4 separate regions of the Homo sapiens genome follow, and all the other regions are linked to region 2. Evidence: promoter capture Hi-C in 16 types of primary human blood cells and fetal thymus (Javierre and others, 2016). All regions are on one chromosome and are shown on one strand. The core of a region is centred on a gene start or on the middle of the fragment in contact, and the rest is flanking DNA. Distances in the headings are between cores, read along the strand shown. Region 1 overlaps ABI1 (abl interactor 1). Region 2 holds the start of APBB1IP (amyloid beta precursor protein binding family B member 1 interacting protein). Region 3 overlaps ABI1 (abl interactor 1). Region 4 overlaps ABI1 (abl interactor 1).

Region 1 (5,859 bases), core at 31-2,530, 410 kb after region 2:
TAGGCGCAGTGGCTCACGCCTGTAATCCCAGCACTTTAGGAGGCCGAGGAGGGTGGATCACAAGGTCAGGAGATCAAACCATCCTGGCCAACATGGTGAAACCTCACCTCTACTAAAAATATAAAAATTAGCCGGGCATGGTGGTGTGCACCTATAGTCCCAGCTACTCGGGAAGCTGAGGCAGGAGAACTGCTTGAACCCGGGAGGAGGAGGCTGCAGTGAACCAAGATCTAGCCACTGCACTCCAGCCTGGGCGACAGAGCAAGACTCCATCTTAAAAAGTAAATAAATAAATAATAAATTAGAGCCACAAGTTTGGCTCTGGCTTTTGCATGAATCCACAAAGATAAAGGAAAAAAGATTATATGATTTATAGTATCCATAGGTCAAAATATCTTGGTGGGGTCCAGCATGGTGGCTTACACCTGTAATCCCAGCACTCTGGAAGGATGAGGTGGGCAGATCACCTGAGGTCAGGAGTTCAAGACCAGCCTGGCCAACACAGTGAAACCCTGTCTCCACTAAAAAATACAAAATTAGCCGGGGTGTGGTGGCATGCACCTGTAGTCCCAGATACTTGGGAGGCTGAGGCAGGAGAATCGCTTGAACCTTGGAGGCGGAGGTTGTAGTGAGCTGAGATCATGCCACCACACTCCAGCCTTTATGACATAGCAAGACTCCGTCTCAAAAAAAAAAAAAAAAAAAAAAAAAAAAAAAAATATATATATATATATATATATATATATATGTAGAAGCAAAGCTTTTCCTAAAACTTCCATGTGACTATAAAAGGAATGTATTGCAATTCTCCTCAGTGATGTAAATATTAATATATCACACATTCTTCCCACCTTGCAGCACCGTACCTCCTCACCCAAAAAGCAAAAATGAGAGTGGCAGGATTTTCATAGAGATAGTACCATGCTGCCTTTCTTCTTCTTCTTTGTGGTAGTGGGGCAAGGTAGGAGAGGTAGGATGGGTGGAAGAAATACCCAATTGAGTTGAAAAAAAAAATAGCTCTATATACCACAAGACATTAATAAACACTAACAATAAAGCCACTCATACAAGCAGTCCCCAAGTTATGACAATTAGCTCATACAAAAGTGATTGATTCAGACCTATAACTCATTTATCTTATATTTAACCACTCATCCAGTGGTTTCTGTTGATTATGCCAAACGTGTCTAGACAAATGAACAGAATATGTCAGGACATAGCAAAAGCACAATTTCATCTTACCAGTGTTAAATTTAAAACACGGTTTCTATTTTCAAATCTGGGAAACACTGATCCGATCTTCTACAGTTTAGTGACAGCAGTTCAAGTATGTTTTTGACTAAGACTTCATCTCCTCCACCTTCCCTGGCACTTGACACTACTCACAGCTCTCCCAAACATGCCTTGCTATCTTTCTGTTCCTACTACCTATATATATCCCTTGCCTCCCAATCCCCCTTCCCCTCAACTCTTTAAATTAATGACTCGGCTAAACTCATTCTTTAGGAGAAACTTTGCCTGAGAACCCCCAAACACTACTGTTCCTTAGAATTCTCTCTAAAAGTTCCTTTCAAAAAGAGATCATTTTCAACCCACGTCATATGTATTTGAAATTTATAAAGACTACACATATAAAAATACCAACAATCTGTAATGCAGAAGGTTATGATAGAACATCAAAATTAACATCAAAAGACATGCACCTCATGCCACAACAGTATATAGCCAGAGAAACTGGAATCCCTTTCCTCTCCTCTTCCCTCTTCCCTTCCCTGTTCTGCCCACGCAGCCAGCTAGCAGTCAAGCTTTATTCCTATTCTCCAACCCACTGCTCTGCCAATCAATTCAATTGTGGAGGAGTAAAAGCTGGAAAGTGTCAGAAACCAACTGTGTACTAACAGCTGAAAAAGAGGGGGTCTATAGATTCACTTCTGTGACTGCAAATTACCTTCTGTAGGCGCATTAGCTTTATGCTAGGGGAAAATAGATACCGGTTAAATAAGCCTTCTTTGGGTTCTCCTTTTCCCGCAGCCACCCATATCTCCTTCACCAAGGCTTGCTGATTCTTATCTTCCTTTTCAATCTTACTACAGCTATCTCAATTCATGAAATACTCTTTACAGTGAGACAAATGTGACAGTCCTCTAACTGGTCACTGTCCATCCAGTCTCTCCCTTCTCCAATCCATCCCGTACCAATGTAAGATGAATCTTCCCAAAGCACATCCTTTGTACAAAAACTGGAAAGGCAGAAAACAAGCATACAGTTTGAGGGGAGAGGATAATAGCAGTATGGGGAGAAGAAGAAGAGACATTTTAGGTTTGACTTTTAATACAACTGTATTGACCCTTTTATAGGAACATATTACCTAAATGCTTTAAAAAAAAAAAAAGCTGCTTGACATATTCTCTTTCCATAAGCAAACTTCTGACTGCCCAAACTAAAATCAAAACCCTTTCAAAAATAACAATTATTTTTCTTCCATACAGAACATTTCCTCATTTAACTATACATACTATAGACCAATTTTCTTTTTCTTAGATTTAAGGCTTTTCAGTGATTTCTACATAGCTTATAAATAATATAGACACAAAGCAGGGCATGATGGCTCACACCTATAATCGCAGCACTTTGGGAGGCTGAGGCGGGCGGATCACCTGAGGTCAGGAGTTCGAGACCAGCCTGACCAATATGATGAAACCCCATCTCTACTAAAGCTACAAATACTAGCTGGGTATGGTGGCATGTGCCTGTAATCCCAGCTACTTGGGAGGCTGAGACAGGAAAATCACTTGAACCCGGGAGGTGGAGGTTGCAGTGAACCAAGATCGTGCCATTGCACTCCATCCTGGACAACAAGAGCGAAACTCTGTCTCAAAAATAATAATAATAATATAGACATCATACCACCACATCATAATACCTAACAGACAGTCTTCCATAGAGTAGGCAATTAACTATTTGTTGAATGAATCTTTCTCTATTTCAGTTCAACAAATCCCAATAGCCTCAAATACTCCTCTTTTTAGAAAAGAAAAATAATAGTCACAGTCTACCATGATGAGTTCAGGCACTGAAGATTTTAGAAAAAATGGACAAGCACAGTGGCTCATGCCTGTAATCCCAGCACTTTGGGAGGCCGAGGCAGGCAGAGCACCTGAGGTCAGGAGTTCAATACCAGCCTGGCCAACATGGTGAAACCCCGTCTCTACAAAAAAATACAAAAAGTAGCCAGGCACGGTGGTGGGTACCTGTAATCCCAGCTACTGAGGCTGAGGCAGAGAGACTTGCTTGAACCTGGGAGGTAGAGGTTGCAGTGAGCTGAGATCACACCACTGCACTCCAGTCTGGGCGACAGAGTGAGACTCCGTCTCAAAAAAAAAAAAAAGATTTTAGAAAAACCATCACCAATTGCTACCATCACCTCTAGACTAGCCACCCTCCAATCTGTTCTGAACTCCTTCCAATCTGTAGTCAATCCTCCTTCCAATCTGTTCTCCACTCTAAACAAGAGTAAACTTCATAAAAAGTAAAAATTATATCATCCCATTGCTGAAAACTTTCTTTCTCTTTTCTTTTTTTTTTTTTTTCTTGAGGCAGAGTCTCACTCTGTTGCCCAGGCTGGAGTGCAGTGGCGTGCTCTCAGCTCGCTGCAACCTCCGCCTCCCAGGTTCAAGTGATTCTCCTGCCTCAGCCTCCTGAGTGGCTGGGACTACAGGCAAGCACCACCATGTCTGGCTAATGTTTGTATTTTTAGTAGAGACGGGGTTTCACCATGTTGGCCAGACTGGTCTCAAATTCCTGACCTCAAGCGATGGGCCCACCTTGGCCTCCCAAAGTGCTGGGATTACAGGCAGGAGCCACTGCGCCCAGCCTTGCTTAAAACTTTCAATGCCTTCTCATCAGCCTCAGACAAAAAAAAAGATCAAAATCCTTATCTGGTACCTACCTACCTCTTCACAGATGACTCTGTTTACTCTGAAGTACACAAGTGTGTAACTTGTTCAAAATCACTCTGCCTTCACTCTTACCTTTGAGCCTGTACACATGCTGCTCTCCCCTCCACAGAGACACTGTTTTCCCTTCCCCCAAATGTTCTCGGTTAACATATATTCACCCTTCAGATCTCAACTCCAACATTACTTCTATGACACACCAAGCTAGGTGGCAGCACCTGATGTATACTTTCATGTCACATGTACCTTCCCTAGATGTAATTTATTATAGTTTGAGTTATTTGATTAATGGAGGAGGCCAACTATAAAATCACTTGAGGGTAGAAACTGTATCTGATTGACAAAACAGTCTGACACATAATACGTGTAAAAAGTCGCAGAATAACTGAGTATGTGACAAACTAATATACTCTGTCATACTAAGAAGCACAATACATATAATTATAAATATATTTCATTTTACTGTGCATTCCTTTTGGAACTCCTGTGGTTCCAACTTGGGAGCCTATACAATTTTGCCAGTTTTCTTTGGGATCTTTATGGTATTATCTGATTATTCTAAAAGAATAAGAGTTATCACCAGTTTGTCTTCCCACTATTCAAAGCAAACTCTGAGGACCAGGCATGGTGGCTCACGCCGGTAATCTTAACTCTTTGGGAGGTCAAGGTAGGCAGATCCCCTGACCCCAGGAGTTCAAGACCAGCCTGGAAAACATGGTGAAACCCTGTCCTTAACAAAAAAATAACAAAAATTAGCCAAGCGTGATGGTGCACACCTGTAGTCCCAGCTACTTGGGAGGTGAGGTGGGAGGATTGCTTGAGCCCAGGAGGTTGAGGCTGCAGTGAGCTGAGATCGCACCACTGTACTACAGCCTGAGCAACAGAGAGAGACCCTGTCTTTAAAAAAAACAAGCAAAATTTGATTATTATTAATTTTAAGGGAAGATGGAACTGAAAAAAAATAGGCTTCTCAAACCTTTTAAAAGAGATATTATTTAACAGAGGAAAAGATAAATGCAAAGCCTTTTTTCATGGAAAACATAAAATGTATATAATAAAAGGGGGAAAATGCCAGAGAAACAACTAAAACAAAAAGTGTACCCTCTGTTTTTTGTCCTTTTCTCCCACTTCAGTTGGGTTATTCTTATTTTTTAAGATGTTGGGCCAGACCTGGTGGCTCACACCTGGGAGGCTCACATGTTGGGAGGCCGAGTCAGGAGGATTGCTACGTTGGGAGGCCGAGTCAGGAGGATTGCTTGAGCTCAGGAGTTCAAGACCAGACTGGACCACATGCCAAAACCCTGTCTCTATAAAAAATACCCAAAAAATTAGCTGGGCACGGTGGCACACCTGTAATTCCAGCTATTTGGGAGGCTGAGGTGGGAGGATGACCTGAGCCCAGGATTTCAAGGCTGTAGTGAACAGTAATCGTGCCACTGCACTCCAGAACCTGGGCAACAGAGCGAGACCCTGTCTCAAAAAAAAAAAAAAAAAAAAAAGAAGAAGAAGAAGAAGAAGATGTAAATATATTAGTACCAAAGTGATACATGCCATGGATAATAACAAGAGATTTCTTCACATCTAATTTGGAACATACTCAAATTAGAAATGAATGATTGTTATATCATTTTAAAATTAAAAATATTATTTCTCACTACTTCCTAAAAATCATTTAATTTTAAAACCGCCTATGAATCAAATAAATTCATATCAACAAATTACTAAATTTTTGGTATGAAATTTGAAGATAACAGATTTATGAAACTTTTAGCAGCAAATCAGTTTCAAAATCAGTACTAGTGAAAGGTGAATTGTACAGAGCAGTAAGACCCAAATATTAAGAACCAAAATAATTAGCACAGTATGCAATATAAGAAGAGGCTTTTTTTTTTTTTTTTTTTTT
Region 2 (5,794 bases), core at 342-2,841:
ACTTATCAGACAGAAATACCAGTTTCAGGTGTTTCTGTCTATTGGGAGACTGCCTTTCCCTGGTGCTATATTAAAAAAAATTAGGATAAATAAATAATAAATAAATAAATGAAAAATACATTTTCTCTTCCTTATGATTTTATTAATAACAGTTTCTTTTCTCTGGCTTACTTTATTATAAAAATACAGTATTTAATATATATAAAATAATATGAGTTAATCGACTATGTTATCAGTAAGGCTGATAACAACTGCTTGATCATCACCTGATGGTCACCTGACATTCCTGGTAGGGGGTGGGAGGAGCCCTCTCCTGCCCTGCTCATGCCTGACTAGCTACCTACTGTAACAGAACAATGCCAGATTTCAGGAGTACCAAACTGCTGCACAATTGAAAATCCATGTATGTCTTTTGACTCCCCCAAAACTTAACCACGAATAGCCTACTGTTGACCAGAAGCCTTACTGATAATATTAAACAGTCAATTAACACATATTATGTTATATGTATTTAGATAAATACTGTATTTTTACAATAAAGAAAGCTAGAGAAAAGAAACTGTTATTAAGAAAATCATGAGGAGAAAATATATTTTCTATTTATTTATCGTTTATTTACCCTAATTAATACAGCAACCCCATCCCCATGCCCATCACTCTCTATCCCTCACCTTTTAACTTCCTTCAAAACTAGTTACATTCCTTGACATGTTAAATATTAATTTGTTTATTGTCTGCTTTCTACCAACTAGAATGCACCATGCATGAGAGCAGAAATTGTTTCCTCTAACTATTTTCATTGTTCTTAGAAGTGTTGGTGCTTACGAATAGTTTCTCATTAAATAAATGACAGAACTATTTGAAATTGCCTAATTAACACATGCACCTAATTTCTGTCTTTATGTCTTCACCACCTTCCCTGACATATAAGCCTTTGAAGACACAGCTGTAGAGGAGAAGGGGAGGGTTATTCAACCGCATTTACAAATCATAACTGATTTTAACTTCTGTATTTTCAGACCTCCCCAGCGACTTTCTCTCAGGAAACTCCACTCCCAACTGACAGGTGCTATTTCCAGCCAGTCCTATGCTGTTGCAAATAGTGAGTCCATGAATGCCCTCTGCCGTGTGCATTACTTATTTTCATCAGCAGATCTTCGTAACACACTCCTGGAAGTGGGATGACGGGGTCAAAAGGCGAATCCATACATAAGTTAAATAGATATTGCTCAATTCTCTTCCACGGGGTTCAGACCATTTTGGATTTCTACGAGCAATGAAGACAGTGCTATTCCTCTACACCCTGGCCGGCCAACTGAGCGTGGTTAAACGTGGGGAGGGAGGAGGGTGAGGTTACCAACCTGATGGTTGAGAAAGGGCCTCCGCCCAGCGCGCCCTTCCTCCACCCCCACCCGAGAGACAGCTGAACTCCGGCCGGGACGCGCGTGTTGCCAGTCCAGCCCTGCACCGCGTCCCCTGAGGGCGGGCTGCAGGCGGCCGGGAAGCCTTGCACAACCGGCCCAAAAGAGGAAGCCCAGAAAGTGCTGAAGTAAACACTTTGGGAGACCGTTGCAACATAAAGCGGCCTCTCAGTCTTTGGTGGAACCATCACTAGGCCCCAATCCCTTAGTCCCTCTTGCGTCGAGGCTGCAAAATGGTTCCATTCGCCAGGAGACGCTCCTGAGAGAAGGGCGCGCGCGGCACAGGTAGGGGGAGGCGCAACGTTTCCCAGAATTAAAATAAAATAAAATAAAATAAAATAAAAATCCCTTCAAGGTGGTTGTGTAGTAGGGGTGGGATGGGGGAGAGAAAATCAGGCGCAGACTCGATGAGTTGGAGAAAGCAGCCCCTAACTCGGAGTCCTTTACGCATATGTTTGTCTGTCCCACTGTCTCTAACCAGGGGCCTTCCTTGCACCTCGGAGCAAAGCAGCTCGGATAGCGCCACACGTCTGCGCGCTGCGTGGGAAGGGCAGGGCTGACAGCACTTCCTCCCCGGGGCAGCGACCTGGAGCCCGGGTGCGGCAGTCTGCACCGCGCGTCGCTTTCCCGGCCGGAGTCTCGCCGCCTTCCCGCGCCCCGCAGCGCCCCGCAGAGCAGTCGAGGTAAGTGGCGCTCCCAGTCCCGGGAGCCCTGGGAGCGCCAGCACGGGCCCCTCGGGGCTGTCAGGAACCCGTTTGTCAAGCCCGTCGGGTCCGACGCCGGGGGCAGCTCCAGGATCTGGCCTCGTGAACGCGTGCCCCCAGGCGTGGCCCTCGAGCGCAGCGGGTCCCCAGGGTCCCCTCCGCTGATCTCCACTCTGGACCCGGCTCGCGAGGGTGGGGGTGTGAGGGTTTGGGGTTCGGGTTTGCTTTTTCCCGAGCTATTGCAACAGATTTGACAGATTTCCTGCCCAGGAAATTGCTGCAAGGTCAAACGGGGAACTGCTATGAACCCTTGCACGTCCAGCAGGTCAGCAGGTCAGCAGGTCAGCAGGTCCGGGAGCCCCAGTCTCCCGGAACCTGGAGGGATTCTTGAGGGGCCAAGATTAGATGTGGATTAAATGCCAGCCGTGTGAGAATTTGAGTGTGGCTCGCAGTCTGATGCATCTTAGAGTGTTTCCTTCCTCTAAAACTTTTGGACAACTCTTTCCTCTTTTTAAAAATAACTTTTTCCCCCGAATATTCTCATTTTCATTTTAAAATACCATAAAGATAGATTTGGACACCAGGCACAAGTTTCATAATTTGGCTTGAAATGAATATCCAGAGGGCCTTTTACAGAATGGAGGAAACTAACTAGGGTGTCCTAATGTCTCCAAGAACCTCTGCGCAGGTGTTCCACCAAAGACCTAGCCCGGTGTACCTCTTACTTTCCTGCTAAGGTATTTCTTAGTTCATACCCCTGTGGAACGTGAAATGTGTTTCCTAGACACTCAGGGCATAGCGGTTCAAAAGAACTTTTAATGTGATCCTTGACGAGACGGAGTACTAGAGGAAAGTAACAAAAGAAAAGGGCCCGTGAGTTTATTATGCCCCCAGATGTTTTTTTCTGGTGGCATAACGTGGTTTAAACAAAGGTGCCGGTACTAGCTACTATTCATTTTAAAATCTGGGTCTCCAGAGAGAAATTTCAGAAAGGAAAACTTTGTCCTTTTTCATAAACCTAGAGCAGCGATTTTCCCTCTGGCCTCACTGGAATAATGGGTGGCACATGGGCCAGGACGATGATGCTGGCTGGCGAAATTAGCAAGGATCTGCTGAGAAATACTTTATAAAGTCTTCTAGTGGTATTTCCTGTCTGCTCAACGTGTGTTGTGAAAGGTCTAAGAAATTTAACTTCATCCTTAAACTATTAATAATGTGTGTCCTTAAACTATTAATCCTTAAACTATTAATAATTACTAATATTTGGGTTTTTTCTCAGCACTTGGGAGACCTGGGTTCTGGCTCTTATATCTCCCCCATCTAGATAAGGATGATATTGATTAACTTGCATAACTTCTCCCTGGACTTCAGATAACGTCAGTAAAGTGAGATGATTGGGCTACATTATGTCTGTTCTTAAAATAGCAATTGAGGAGTTGCTATAATTCTTTGAATTGGTCCCAACTGGAATACTGGCAACATTATATCAACATTAGAATTGCTGATCACAAATTTTTTAAAAATGGAGAAAATAATCATAACCATAACAGATTACATTCTGAAATATCAATATCTTTGAGGTCTTTTGTTTCTGAGAAGTTCCTGTAAAAGCGCAGTCAATATCTGGCCTATATGTAAAAAGGCAAATTTCCATCTTATTTGAAAACTGAGATAAGAAACAGCCCAAACTTGAACAGGTCAATATTATATTTTGAAATCTTTAAATTGCTATTTCTCAAGAAATATAACTTTGTAATATGAATTACTTTATGGCATTACTTTAAATCTTAAACACAATACTAGGTTTTATAGTATTTATTACATTTTTTGTATTTTTATATCCTAAGAATGTTCACCAGTTATCCACTATTGATTTGCCTTTTTTCACTCATCAATCAAAGTTTTAAATAGTTCCATATTATTATTAGAATGAGCTACTTATAAAGTTCATTGCCATAAATGTCTGTTTGATATGTCACTTTGAATTTTCTTTAAGCCATCTTACTTCCAAAGAGCATTATTATTTTCATTTTCTTCTAATTCTCTTCAATTTTATTTTAATTATTTTTATGCCTAAAACATTTTAGTGAGTCCACAAATCTTATAATAAATTGTCTGCGTTCCATAGCCTATTGGACCACAATCTTTACAATTTTATAGGACCCCATGAGTTTATATTATGGAGACTACGGTGATCTTAGGAATGCTTGCCTCAAAACAGAACAATTTTTATTAACACAACAGGTATCTTCTCAGTATGAAAATGAATGTGTGTGTTTTATGTCACTGCTGTCATCTAAGAGGCAAGTCACTTAAAGCTTAAGCATTTATTATAAATTCATGTACATAATAAATGCCAGATTTTAAAGTGTAAGATTTCTACACTGGTTGCATGGGGATTTTAAAATACATATTACACTTTTAATTATCGTGAGAAACATGACTTTTAGAGAAAACTGCTAGATATCTGGAACAGTAATCATTAGATTTCTCTTGAAAAGAGAGAACTAGCCGCATGAAGGAATGCCATTACACCTATACCCAGTTAAAGAGACTAGATTGTACCTGCAGCTTGGAAGGGCAGACCCTGAGGACAGCTTTTGGGGGACTAGAGGATGTGACCTGCCACCACTGCATCATCATTTCCTAGCCAATTTGTGATCCCAAAATGAGGACTCCAAAGAGGCTGGCTAAATGTGCAGAATATATTAATCTCACTGAGTGGTACCATGGAAATATCACAAGCCCCTGAGATCCCGTTGGCTCCACTGGTCCCAAACCTCAGGCATGAGCAAGCAGAGAGGTGACACCACTCCAAGGCATCACACGTTCTCATTATTCCACATATTCTGGAGCTTGATTCCGTGACTCAGTTTTAAAACATTTCCTGAGCGTTGACCATGAACTTGAATAATTAAGAATCATAAGAGCTATTTTCTTTCTTCTCTGTCAACTCAGTTTTCTCTTTGATCATCACATAGTAATAGCAAATAATAATTATTATAATGTTTACTTATAAATACTACCAGGCCCTGTACTAATTTAGATGTGTCATCTTGTTAATCATCACATCAAGATGAAAGCACAGAGAGGGTAAGAAACTTACGCAGGAAGTAAGAAACAGAGCTGTTGTTTGAACTGGGCCATCTGATGGTGGCACCCATGAAAAAACCTGGGGCCTTTCCACAATGAGTTTATAGTCTAGAAGAGGAGATGTAACTAGATGTAAGAGGAGATGTAGAATTCCATGCGGAACCAGAGTTGAGTGCTGTGGGACTACATATCAGGGTCCCTGGTCTCCCCAACCAGGGTCACGGGAGAAGGTTGAATAGAAGGAAACCAAGCAAAGAACTTATCGTGTTATCATGGGAAGACAAGTTAATATAATCAACTTTGAAGTTATTATCTTTACGTGTGCCTTGAAAAAAGAATCTGCTTTGTTAGCAATCGTGTGTTTTCATTTTTGTGTTTATTTTATTCTAATCCCACATGACAGCCGGCTAGGTTGATTAAATCAACAAGCAAGCAGTGAGTTTAATATTTTTTCTAATTCTGTTGGGGATCTTTTTGATTTAGTTTCATGTTACAGACTCATCAGTGAGATGGTTGTGGGCTGGGATGGGGGATAAAAGCTAAATCACACAGCAACTGTGTTTCCCCAAACCGACT
Region 3 (6,404 bases), core at 2,762-5,261, 360 kb after region 2:
AAAAACCAAAAACACCATACCAAGTTACATAACTGTGAAATTTCAAAGCACCACAGTAGAGATTAAATATGCCAAAAGTTTCCAGAGAGAAAAAGATAAGAATATACAAAGGATCTGCAATCAGTGACACATAAGACATCTCAATGACAATATTGGAAGGGAGAAGAAATGAACTATTTCCTTTAAAATATGTTGACTTCTAAAATAAAAAAATTTATTTAACACAGTACTAGAAGTACTAGCAAGAGCCATCAAACAAGAAAAAGAAATAAACAGGCATTTAAATCAGAAAGGAAGTAGTAAAATTATCTCTATTTGCAAATGACATGTTCCTAAATACAGAAAACCCCAAAGATCCCACAGAAAAGATAAAAACACTGCTAGAACTAATGAATTCAGTAAAGTTAAAGAATACAAAATCAACATACAAAAATCAGTAACATTTCTACACACAATAACCCAGATGAAAAGGAAATTAAGAAAACAATTCCATTTATGATAGCATCCAAAAAAAAATACTTAGGAGTAAATTTAACCGAGAAGGTTAAAGATTTGTACACTGAAAACTATAATACACTGATGAAAGAAACTGAAGACACAAATAAATGGACAGATATCCCATGTTCATAGATAGGAATAATTAATATTGTTAAAACAGCCATACTACCCAAAGCAATATACAGATTTAACCCAATCCCTATCAAAATTCTAATGGCATCCTCCACTGAAATAGAAAAAACAATCCTAAAATCCATACAGAGCCACAAAAATCCTAAATAACCAAGGCAATACGGAGAAACTCCAGCCTGGTGACAGAGTGAGACCCAGTCTCAAAAAATAAAATAAAAGAGCTCAAAAGCTTCGTAGGTCTAAGCTGCAATGAGCCATGATTGTGTCACTGCACTCCAGCCTGGGTGACGGAGTGAGACCCAGTCTCAAAAAATAAAATAAAAGAGCTCAAATACACAGAAATAGAGAATGAAACAGTGGTTACCATGGTTATTTTGGGGGGAAAGGAGAGGGAGCTGTGGGTCAAAAGATACAAAATAGCAGATATTCAGAATAAGTTTAGAGATCCATGTACAACACGAGGACTACAGTTAATAAAACTGTATTGTACAGTCATGTGTCACATAACATTTTGGTCAACAATGGACCACATATATATCACACCACATAATAACAATAGTTCCATAAGATTATAATACTGTATTTTTATTGTACCTTTTCTATGTTTAGACATGCTTGGATACACAAATACCACTGTGTTCCAATTGCCTACAGGACTGAGGACAGTAACATGCTGTACAGGTTTGTAGCCTAGGAGCAACAGGCTGTACCATAGGGCCTAGGTATACAGTAGGCTGTACTATCTAGGTTTGCGTAAGTACACTCTATGATGTTCACACAACAAAATGGCCTAGGAATACATTTCTCAGAACATTTCCTTGTCATTAAGCAAGCATGACTGTATTAAGGATTTTCATTAAATAAGTAGATTTTAGGTGCTCATCACTTAACAAAAGTAACTATGTGAAATGACAGATGTGTTTATCTGCTTCACTATAGTAACTAATTTACTGTCTATATGTATTCCATAACACAGCAGTCCCCTTTTTGGCACCAGGGACCGGTTTTGTGGAAGACAATTTTCCACGCACTGGGGAGACAGGCGAATGGTTTTGGGATTAAACTGTTCTACCTCAGATCATCAGGCATTAGATTCTCATAAGGAGCATGCAACTTAGGTCCCTTGGACATAAGGTTCACAATAGGGTTTGCGCTCCTGTGAGAATCTAATGCCACAGCTAATCTGACAGGAGGCAGTAATGTTCGCTGGCCCTCTGCTCACCTCCTGCTATGCAGCCCGGTTCCTGACAAGCCACGGACTAGTACAGGCCAGTAGCTCAGGGGTTGGGGACCCCTGCCATAACGTCATGTTGTAAACCTCAAATATACACAGTAAAATTTATTTTTTAAGTCTAAAGGAAAGTAATTTTTAGTCTAAAACTAAGGACAGTATAGCATAGTGATAACAAGTAGATTCTAAAACCAGACTGCCTGGTTCAAATGATGCCATTTAATAGATGTATTATCCTGAACAAGTTGCCTAAGCTCTTTGTGTATCAATTTCTTCATCTGTAAAATGAGGTTGTTATAAGAATGAATTAATTCATAGGTGTTCATTTATGTAAAAAGCCTGGTATACAATATGCACTCTATAAGTGCTCTAGAAAGCACGACTAGGGATAGGAAGGGATTGCACTGAATTCCGCTTGTCATTGTAATCCCTTAGGTAGTATGTGACTGGTTTTTAATCACATTCACATATTATCACAGGGAGGAAGGGAGGGAGTTGTAAAATGAAGTCCAAAGATAACAGCTTGGTACAGAAGAGTATCTATATGCCTTTAGCTCAAATGAGATAAGCAGAAACACAGAAAATGTAAAAATGAGGGAGAATCTCAGCAGACAGTCAAGAAGGAAGGCAAGGCATGGTAGGAAAAACCTGATCTGGCTGAATAGTGGGGTCAGAGCTGTAAACCAAGACATGCTGTTCAGATTAAAGAAAAAAAGCATGGCTTGTCGATATCAGAGTAGAACGGAATGTTCATATGAAGAAACTGAGTTTTAATCACAATTAACTGACTTTTCAAAGATGAGATTCACTGAGGGGTTTTGATTGACATTAAAAGCATTTTAAATTAAAGGATAATAGGAAAACAAAGTAACAGACTTTATGTCTTGTTAAAGTCATTATTACCTTACTAATATAAGCAATGCCAACTAGAGCAATATGGCACATTAGATAACCTGAAATCTCTCCCACTAGAAACTACCTAAAAATGCTTGATTTAAAGATGCTATGAAAGCATCTTTTTAAAATTCACAGTCCAAAACTAAAGAGAGTAAAGAAAATCCAGGGAGACTAGGAAAAAGAGAGGACAAAAATTCAGAGCAGAAAACATGAACAAGGCTGCAGCTACTCTGTAGTAGCTTTTTGGCCTCTAGCAAAGGAGCTTGTACTTTTATGCCACATGGGGACAAAATTAAAATACCCTTTGGGCTTGCTGAAGGTGGGAAGTTAGAACTGATATAGCAAAAGGGACTTTGCAGATGTGATTAAGAATCTTGAGACGGGGTGCTATCCAGTATTGGGGGGGGTGAATCAAATGAAATCACGAGGGTCCTTACAAGCCAAAGAGGGAGGCCAGAGGGTCAGTACTGATCAGTGATGCCATACGAAAAAGACTCAACTGGCCATTGGTGACTTAAAGATGGATGAAGGGGTCATGCGCCAAAAGTGCAGGTGGCCTCTAGAAGCTGAAAAAAGGCAAGGGAACAGATGCTCCCCTAGTGCTTCTAGAAGGAACACAGCCCTATCCACATATTAATTTTAGCTCAGTGAAACCCATTTCAAACTTCTGACCTCCAGAACTGTAAGATAATAAAGATATGTTATAAGCCACTAAATTTGCGGTGATTTGTTACAGCAACTATAGGAAACTAAGGCGCACACACTGAGGTGGGGTTGGGGAATGTTCTAGAAAGTATACACATTTCCATGAAGTTTTCAGGTTCAAAAAGTATAAATAGTCCTGGACTGACGGCATCCTAGAACACTTAGCAGAACAGGGAATATACCTTCAGCTTAGCTTATCAATGGTATATCCCTTAAGTGGCACAGAGATCTCAACACATGAGATCTTAAAATAAGCTTACAACACAAATTTACAAAACACATAAGGAAAAAAATTCACCACAAGCAGGAGTCAGCATGTACACATGTAACAAATCTCCGAAGGAAGTTAATCCAAAAGAAAGAAAGGAGAAAAAAGAGACAGAACAGATGACATAAGTAGAAAACACAAAATGATGTTGTTTCATTTGAATTCAAATATATCATTAACTACATTAAATGTAAATTCAATAGTACTCCTATTAAAATAAGTATCACTGTATTTTTGTGAATCCAGTTATATGATTTCTTAGAAGAGGCAATTTTTTTAGCTTTTTTCCAGTTCCATCTCCCAAAGCTCTGTCATCCAGACAAATCTTTAAAAACAGAAAAAAACTGCAAGAATAAAAAAGATATATTCTGCATATTAATATATAGTATATTAATATAATATCGAGAACTATAATCAGAAAAGATTCTTAGAGGCAGAGTGTCCTGTATTCCATAATTATGCTGCATTTTCTCAAAAATATTTTAAAATACATTTAAATACTCAATGAAGGCTTTATAATTTACACTGTGCTCTTCAAAAAGAACAAACCAAAAGCAATAAAGAAGCTGCTTGCCAAGCTTCGGGGGAGGGGGGAAATTAGAAAAAATGAGCACGTGCAACTGCACATAAAACTGCAGGTGGCTAGAAAGGAAACCAACTGAAGGGGAAAAAATCTAAAAATAGGCTTAGAACAGTGATTCTGACTGCCTTCGTTTGGATTTTCAAATCATTTCAGAGCTAAAACTGAGAGATGAAATGTGTACAATTTGTTTTAACCAAGAAGGCTATTTTAGAAATAAGTTCTGCCATAATTAAATATACTTATTTATGCGTTAGAAGTTCAAGTACCATTTGCAATTCAAAACCCAAAGAATTTTTCAATTAGAAATGATCTTAATGACAAATTATAGCAAAATCAATTATTCCCAATTAATTGAAAAAAATTCCTCTGACAGTACATTTTGCTGCTCTCTTTCAAAATATTTTTAGGGACATCACATCTTGATGGGCATGCCAAGTTCTCTACAGGCTTCCTCTAGATTTCCATATTATCACAGATTCTAAAGACACAAAACTAAAAACACTTGGAAAACAATTTTACAATATAAACCACAAAAACGTAAAAAAAAAAAAAAAAAAAAATTAAGACAGTGGGAGCAGCTTTTAAATAGGAAACTACTGCCTTCAAAAAGTCATCCTTAATATATCACCTGAATCGGGCCGGGCGCAGTGGCTCAAGCCTGTAATCCCAACACTTTGGGAGGCCAACCTAGGTGTATCACCTGAGGTCAGGAGTTCAAGACCAGCCTGGCCAACATGGTGAAACCCCGTCTCTACTAAAAATACAAAAAATTAGCCGGGCATGGTGGCGTGTGCCTACAGTCACAGCTACTCAAGAGGCTGAGGCAGGAGAATCGCTTGAACCCTGGAGGCAGAGGTTGCAGTGGGCCAAGATCGCGCCACTGCACTCCAGCCTGGGGGAAAGAGTGAGACTGTGTCTCAAAAACAAAAACAAAACTCCTGAATCTAATCACAAGGAAGCATTACACATACCCATACGGAGACACATTCTACAAAACAACTGGCTATAAATTTTCCAAAGTATCAAGGTCAGCCGCGCACGGTGGCTCACACCTATAATTCCAGTACTTTGGTAGGCCAAGGTGGGAGGATGGTTGAACCCTCCAGTTTGAGACCAGCCTGGGAAACATAGTGAGAACTCATCTCTATAAAATAAAACAAAAAAATAAGGCAGGAGGATCATTTGAGCCCAGGAGGTGGAGGATGCAACGAGCCATGACAGGACCATTACACTGCTGCCTGGGTGACAGACCAGGACCTTGCCTCAAAAAGAAAAAATCAAGGGGCCAGGCACAGTGGCTGACGCCTGTCATCCCAGCACTTTGGGAGGTCGGGAGTTCGAGACCAGCCTTACCAACATGGAGAAACCCCATCTCTACTAAAAATACAAAATTAGCCAGACATGGTGGCACACGCCTGCAATCCCAGCTACTGGGGAGGCTGAGGCGGGAGAATCACTTGAACCCAGGAGGCAGAGGCTGCGGTGAGCCGAGATTGTGCCATTGCACTCCAGCCTGGGCAACAAGAGCAAAACTCCATCTCAAAAAACAAAGGATCAAGGTCAGATGAGGTCAAGAGAAGACTGAGGAACTGTGCCAGACTGAGGAAGATGAAGGAGACATGACATTTAATGTTTCTGAACTGGATCCTTTCCTATGAAACTACTGGAACAACTGGCATACTTGAATGGAATTTGTTGATTAGATGGTAGCAATGTATCAGTGGTAATCACCCGACTTTGATGAGCGTAATACGGTGATGCAGTAAAATGTATTTGTTTCTAGAAAATACACACCATCGTGGCCGGGCACGGTGGCTCATACCTATAATCCCAGCACTTTGGAGGCCAAGGCAGGCGGATCACTTGAGCTCACAAGTTTGAGACCAGCCTGGGCAATATGGCAAAACCCTGTCTCTACAAAAAATACAAAAATTAGCCAGGCGTGGTGGTATGCACCTGCAGTCCCAACTACTTAGGAGGCTGAGGTGGCAGGATGACTTGAGCCCGGGACGCAGAGGTTGCGGTGAGCCAAGATCACGCCACTGCAGTCCAGCCTAGGCGATAGGACCAGAACTTGTCTCAAAAAAAAA
Region 4 (6,067 bases), core at 2,636-5,135, 380 kb after region 2:
AAGACATCTTCCAAAGAATGAGAATTGAATTCAGTAAGCTCAGCAGAACACAGAGAATATTCATAATTAAATAAAGAAGAAAAATAATTTGAAAATGTTTTGTTACTGAAAAAACAAAATATAGGCAGTTGTTTTGCACAGTTCTGATACGCATGAATTTCAGTTACCATATTTTAGTTAACACCAGTCCTCCAACTACACAATTTAAATTTCAGTTACATTCAGGTGCAGTGGTTCACACCTGTAGTGCCAGCACTTTGGAAGGCCAAGGTGGAAAGATCACTTGAAGCAAGGAATTTAAGACCAGCCTGGGCAACACAGCAAGATCCCATCTCTACCTCACCACCCAAAAAAATTAGCTGGGTATGGTGGTGTGCATCTGTGGTCCCAGCTACTCAGGAGGCTGAGGCGGGAGGATCATTTGAGCCCAGGAGTTCAAAGCTGCAGTGAACTATGACTGTGCCACTGCACTCCAGCCTGAGCAACAGAACAGGATTCTGTCTCATAAAAACATAAAAATAAATAAATTTCAGTTACCACAAGAACTATAAATAATCGCACAAAGCAGAAACTTCGCTGCTAGGTCTGAAGTCCACATAAGTAACAGATGAGCATCATTACTGGTTACCAATCGTGTCTTTGTTTCAAAGTTTATTGGTGAATGGTCTCTGTACATCTGATATTAAGTTTATCCACAGACTACAAAGTACATAGTTGTGCTGCTTCCTTGTCCCCTAAATGATAAGCCATTGTGACATTTTACAAAACTGGGTATCAAAGAGAGAACTGGCCAACAAAGATGAAACTGCAGCAAATACATGAAAAGTGATAATGCTAGATAGAGGTGAAATTCGAATTGAATGTAAATGGGATTAAAACAGAAATAATGCATACAGGAATGCTAACATTGCTGCCATTCAGGAGACTACAGATATGCAGCCAGAAGAATATCATGAAGGCAAATGTATTAACATAAATGAACAAAGTGGCTGAGAAGAAAGGGAAGAAGATACTACAGATAAAATGATACCCATAAAAACTTTATGTTAAAGAAACTCTAGAAGATATTTCACAACATTTAAAATCCAAAGGATAAAATGTTGAGAGGAGCTGATCCACCCAGAGAAAGGAGAATGACAATTTGCCAAGGCACAGAAAAAAATGTGTGCTTCATAACAACTTACACAGTGAGAAGGTAGCAAGCACTATTCAAACTACTTTCTTAAGAAATAAAACCCTTTAATTCTCAATACCTCGAATGTTTTACATTATGGTATACTAAACATTAGCATAACTTTTTTTTCATTTCTCTATTCATTTATAACAAAAAGAGAGATTTTAATGTTTTGACAAAAAATTTTACAGATCACAGAACAACCATAATTTTACCCATTGACTAGTAAGATTGTTTTGTATACCTTGAGCATGCATCACCATTTTTTATAATCTCCAATAACCATGCAAAATAATCACTGCCTATACATAAAATGTACAGTGATCCTCTGGTTATAATCCATGTATAAGAATCAACTAAAAACTAGGTTCTATTATATTTTTCCTAAGTAATTTTGCAAAGACTTTGTGTGTGTGTGTGTGTGTGTGTGTGTGTGTGTGACGGAGTCTTACTCTGTCGCCCAGGCTGAGGTACACTGGTGGGATCTCAGCTCACTGCAACTTCTGCCTCCCGAGTTGAGGCGATTCTCCTGCCTTAGCCTCCTGAGTAGGTGGGATTACAGGTGCCTGCTAGCACGCCCGCCTAATTTTTGTATTTTTAGTAGAGACGGGGTTTCACCATGTTGGCCAGGCTGGTCTCAAACTCCTGACCTCAAATGATCCACTCACCTCAGCCTCCCAAAGTGCTGGGATTACAGGCCACCATGTCCGGCCAAGAGATTTATTTTAATTCAGTAAACACTGCAAACCAGTCATTTGCCAGACATTGTGCAAGTCCTCAAGAACCAGCATGAATCACTCTACACTAGATTCTGTTCTACAAAAAAAATTATTTTAGCAAAGTTCCAATCTATATCAATTTTGTCCTAAAATCTAAAAAGGCAACAGGATACCACCAAACATGAAAATAAGCTGGGCACAATGGCACATGTCCGTAGTCCCAGCTACTCAAGAAGCTGAGGTGGGAGGATCACTTGCGGATGGAGAGTTAGTGCTTAACAGGTACATTGTTTCAGTTTGGAAAAAGGAAAGAAGTTTTGGAGATGAATGGTGGTGATAATTACAAAACAATGTCAAGGTACTTAATGCCACTGTACACTTAAAAATGGTTGAATGATCAATTTTATCTTATGCATATTCTGCCACAATAATAAACAGGGATAAAAAGCAAAAATCTCTTTTAGATATACAAAAGCTGAAAGAACTCATCACCAGCAGAATAGAGCAACACTTCATGCTAAAGTATTCCAAGGGAATAAAAACCACCAAAACTCTGGGCTATAAAACAATTCCTGGCCGGGCACGGTGGCTCATGTCTGTAATCCCAGCACTTTGGGAGGCCGAGGCAGGCAGATCACTTGAGGTCAGGAGTTTGAGACCAGCCTGGCCAGCATGGTGAAATCCCATCTCTACTAAAACTACAAAAAAAAATAGCTGAGCATGGTGGCGCATGCCCGAAGTCCCAGCTACCCGGGAGGCTGAGGCAGGAGGATGGCTTGAACCCAGGAGGCAGAGGTTGCAGTGAGCCAAGATGGTGCCACTGCACTCCAGCTTGGGAGACAGAGCAAGACTCCATCTCAAAAAAAAAAAAAAAAAAAAAAAAAAAAAAAAAAAAATTCCTAACAAATTTGAAAGGACTCAAATCATATAATGTATATTTTCTGATCAGAAATAATAACTATGGGTAAATATAAAGGAATTAATTTCCTCATATTAAATCTCATTCAAAGCTAGTTGCTTTTCAAAACAAAAATAATGGCTAGGCACAGTGGCTCATGTCTGTAATCCCAGCACTTTAGGAGGCCAAGGCAGGCAGATCACTTGAGGTCAGGAGTTTGAAACCAACCTGGCCAACATGGTGAAACCCCGTCTCTACTAAAAATACAAAAATTAGCTGGCATGCACCTGTAATCCTAGCTACTCAGTAGGCTGAGACATAAGAATCACTTGAAACTGGGAAGGTGGGGTGGGGGAAGGCAGGGGCAAAGGTTGCAGTGAGGCAAGATCACGCCACTGCACTCCAGCCTGGACAACAAAGCGAGACCCCGTCACAAAAAAAAAAAAAAAAAAGAGCAAAGCATTGTGGGGTTTAAAACATACACAAAAAGAAAATGCGTGACACAAGCCAGGCGTGGCGACTTATACCTGTAATCTGTAATCCCAGTACTCTGGGAGACCGAGGTGGGTGGATCACGAGGTCAGGGGTTCAAGACCAACCTGGCCAAGATGGTGAAACCCTGTCTCTACTAAAAATACAAAAATTAGCCGGGCATGGTGGCGGGCACCCATAATCCCAGCTACTCACTCGGGAGGCTGAGACAGAGAATTGCTTGCACGTGGGAGGCAGAGGTTGCAGTGAGCCGAGATCGCACCACTGTACTCCAGCCTGGGTGACAGAGCGAGACTCCGTCTCAATAAAAGAAAAAAGAAAGTGCATGACACCAACAGCCCTAAGACAGGAGAGAAGTGGAATCAACTATTACAAAGTCTTAAACATACTCCTGAAGTAATAGCATAGTCTACCTTCAAGTGATATTAAAAAGTTTAAAGATGTTTACCAGAAGCCCTAAGGCAAACATGAATGAAATAATAAAAGAGAGAAGCAGAACAAAGTGTTACACCAAATCAGCACCCCCCCCAAAAAAAATTCACTCCATTAACACACAAGGAGGCAGAAAAAGAGGATAAAAGGAAAGCTGGAATGGTTGTATTCATATCAGACAAAGCAGATTTCTGAAGAATACTACCCAAGATAAAAAGAGGCTTTACAAAGATAAAGGGTCTATTCATCAAGTGGACCTAACAAGCCAAAGCATTTGTGTACCTAATATAGTATCACTTCAAAATACGTAACAGAAAAAAGACTAAAATGCAAAGAAAAATAGACATTCAGAATTATAGTTGGAGATTTCAATTTACCTTCCTTAATAATTGATAAAACAATTAGATAGAATCAGTAAAGATACAGAAGAATTGAATATTATCAACCAACTTGACTTAATGAGATTTATAGACATTCCACCTGACCAGAGAAAAATACACATTCTTCTCAAATGCACACAAAACATTTACCAAGACAGAGCATATTCTGGGATATATAACAATTCTTAATAAATATGAAAGGACTCACAGCATATAAAGTATTATTCAGAATAGCCAAGACACAGCATCAATCTAGGTGTCTATCAATGGATGAATAGGAAAATATGGGGGGGATATACATATACATTTATTTAAACAGACTACAATTCCTATTATTCAGCCTTAAAAAAGAAAATTCTGTTATTTGCAACATGACACAACAGATGAACCTGTAGGACCTTACAGTAAGTGAAATAAGCTAGGCGCAGACAGACAAACCCTGAATGATCTCCCTTTTTCAGATGTGGAATCTAAAAAAATCAAAGCTCACTGAAGCAGAGAGTAGAATGGTAGTTGTCAGAGACTAGGGGGTAAGGGAAATGGGGAGCTGTTGCTCAAAGGGTACAAAGTTTCAGCTATGCAGGATGAATAAGTTCTGGAGATCTAATGTACAGCATGATGACTATAGTTAATAATATAGGGTTGTAGACTTGAAATTTGCTAAAAGAGGAAATCTTAAATGCTCTCGCCACACACAAAAAAAGTAGCTGTGTGAGGTGATAGATATGCTAGTCAGCTTGATAGTGGTAATCATTTCACAATGTATATGTATATCAAAACATCACATTGTACATCTTAAATATATATGATTTTTGTGTCAATTATAACTCAATAAAGCTGCGGGGGAAAGCTACTTAATGAAAAAAAAATCAAATGAGGTGTATTTTTCTGACCAGTAAGAAATTAAATTAGAAAAATCAACAGCAGAAATATCCTTGCAAAACCTGAAAATACTTGCAAACTAAGCAACACATTTCCAATAACCCCTGGGTCAGAAAGAAATAAAAAAGCAAACTTAGAAATTATATTCAGCTAAATGAAAATGAAAGCATAACATATCTAAATGTATGAGATACAGCTAATGCACTTTTTTTTTTTTTTTTTGAGATAGAGTTTTGCTCTGTCACCCAGGCTGGAGTACAGTGGCGCGATCTCGGCTCACTGCAACCTCCGCCTCCCAGGTTGAAGTAATTTGCCTCAGCCTCCTGAGTGAGTAGCTGGGATTACAGGTGCCCGCCACCACGCCCGGCTAATTTTTGTATTTTTAGTAGAGACAGGGTTTCACCATCTTGGTCAGGCTGGTCTTGAACTCCTGACCTCATGATCCACCCACCTCGGCCTCCCAATAATACACTATTTAGAGGGACATTTACAGACCTAAACACCTATGTTAGAAAAGATTAAGGGTCTCAAGTAAATTAAATGACCTTGGCTTTCACCTTAATAAAGTATAAAATAAGGCTGGGTGTGGTGGCTCACACCTGCGATCCTAGCACTTCGGGAGGCCAAGGCAGGCAGATCACTTGAGCCCAGGAGTTTGAGACCAGCCTGGCCAACATGGTGAAACCCTGCCTCTACTAAAAATACAAAAAAGTTCACTGGGCGTGGTGAGGTGCACCTGTAATCCCAGCTACTCAGAAAGGTAAGGCACAAGAAAGGCTTGAACCTGAAAGATGGAGGTTGCAGTGAGCCGAGATCATGCCACTGCACACCAGCCTGGGCATCAGAGCAAGACTCCATCTAAAAAAAAAAAAAAAAGTATAAAATAAGAGCAAATCAATCCCAAGGTAAGGAAAAGAAAAAGAAATAATAAAGATCAGAATGGAAATCAATGCAACAGAAAACAAAAACATAGAAAATTAATAAGGCCAAAGATGTTTTTAATATCGATAAAGTTGGTAAACTAGCCATAATGATTAGTTTAAAAAAGAAAGATGACACCAATTACCAATATGAAGAATGAGCAATGTGA

The links. Contacts are between HindIII fragments. The CHiCAGO score rates a contact against its expected background, and 5 or more counts as called.
Region 1: a contact is called between a fragment that was not itself captured here and the fragment with the promoter of APBB1IP in region 2, in 6 of 17 cell types (total B cells, activated CD4 T cells, naive B cells and 3 more). The highest score is 6.5, in total B cells.
Region 3: a contact is called between a fragment that was not itself captured here and the fragment with the promoter of APBB1IP in region 2, in 2 of 17 cell types (fetal thymus and total B cells). The highest score is 8.0, in fetal thymus.
Region 4: a fragment that was not itself captured here is called in contact with the fragment with the promoter of APBB1IP in region 2 in 1 of 17 cell types (neutrophils); the score reaches 5.1 in neutrophils.

What each region holds. Positions count from the first base shown.
Region 1 is chr10:26,842,768-26,848,626 of GRCh38, forward strand. The region is part of intron 1 of ABI1 (abl interactor 1); the gene reads right to left. Among named protein-coding and RNA genes, the nearest start is that of ABI1, 15 kb to the right of the region's middle. The HindIII fragment of the contact is 1,045 bases long and covers 759-1,803 here.
Region 2 is chr10:26,436,750-26,442,543 of GRCh38, forward strand. It overlaps APBB1IP (amyloid beta precursor protein binding family B member 1 interacting protein), which reads left to right and starts at 1,592. Exons shown (of 15, transcript NM_019043.4): 1 at 1,592-1,706; 2 at 1,903-2,104. RefSeq lists enhancers at 909-1,438, 1,156-1,285, 1,846-1,925. The HindIII fragment of the contact is 5,297 bases long and covers 1-4,441 here.
Region 3 is chr10:26,795,152-26,801,555 of GRCh38, forward strand. The region is part of intron 2 of ABI1 (abl interactor 1); the gene reads right to left. Among named protein-coding and RNA genes, the nearest start is that of ABI1, 63 kb to the right of the region's middle. The HindIII fragment of the contact is 591 bases long and covers 3,717-4,307 here.
Region 4 is chr10:26,815,407-26,821,473 of GRCh38, forward strand. The region is part of intron 2 of ABI1 (abl interactor 1); the gene reads right to left. Among named protein-coding and RNA genes, the nearest start is that of ABI1, 43 kb to the right of the region's middle. The HindIII fragment of the contact is 7,986 bases long and covers 1-6,067 here.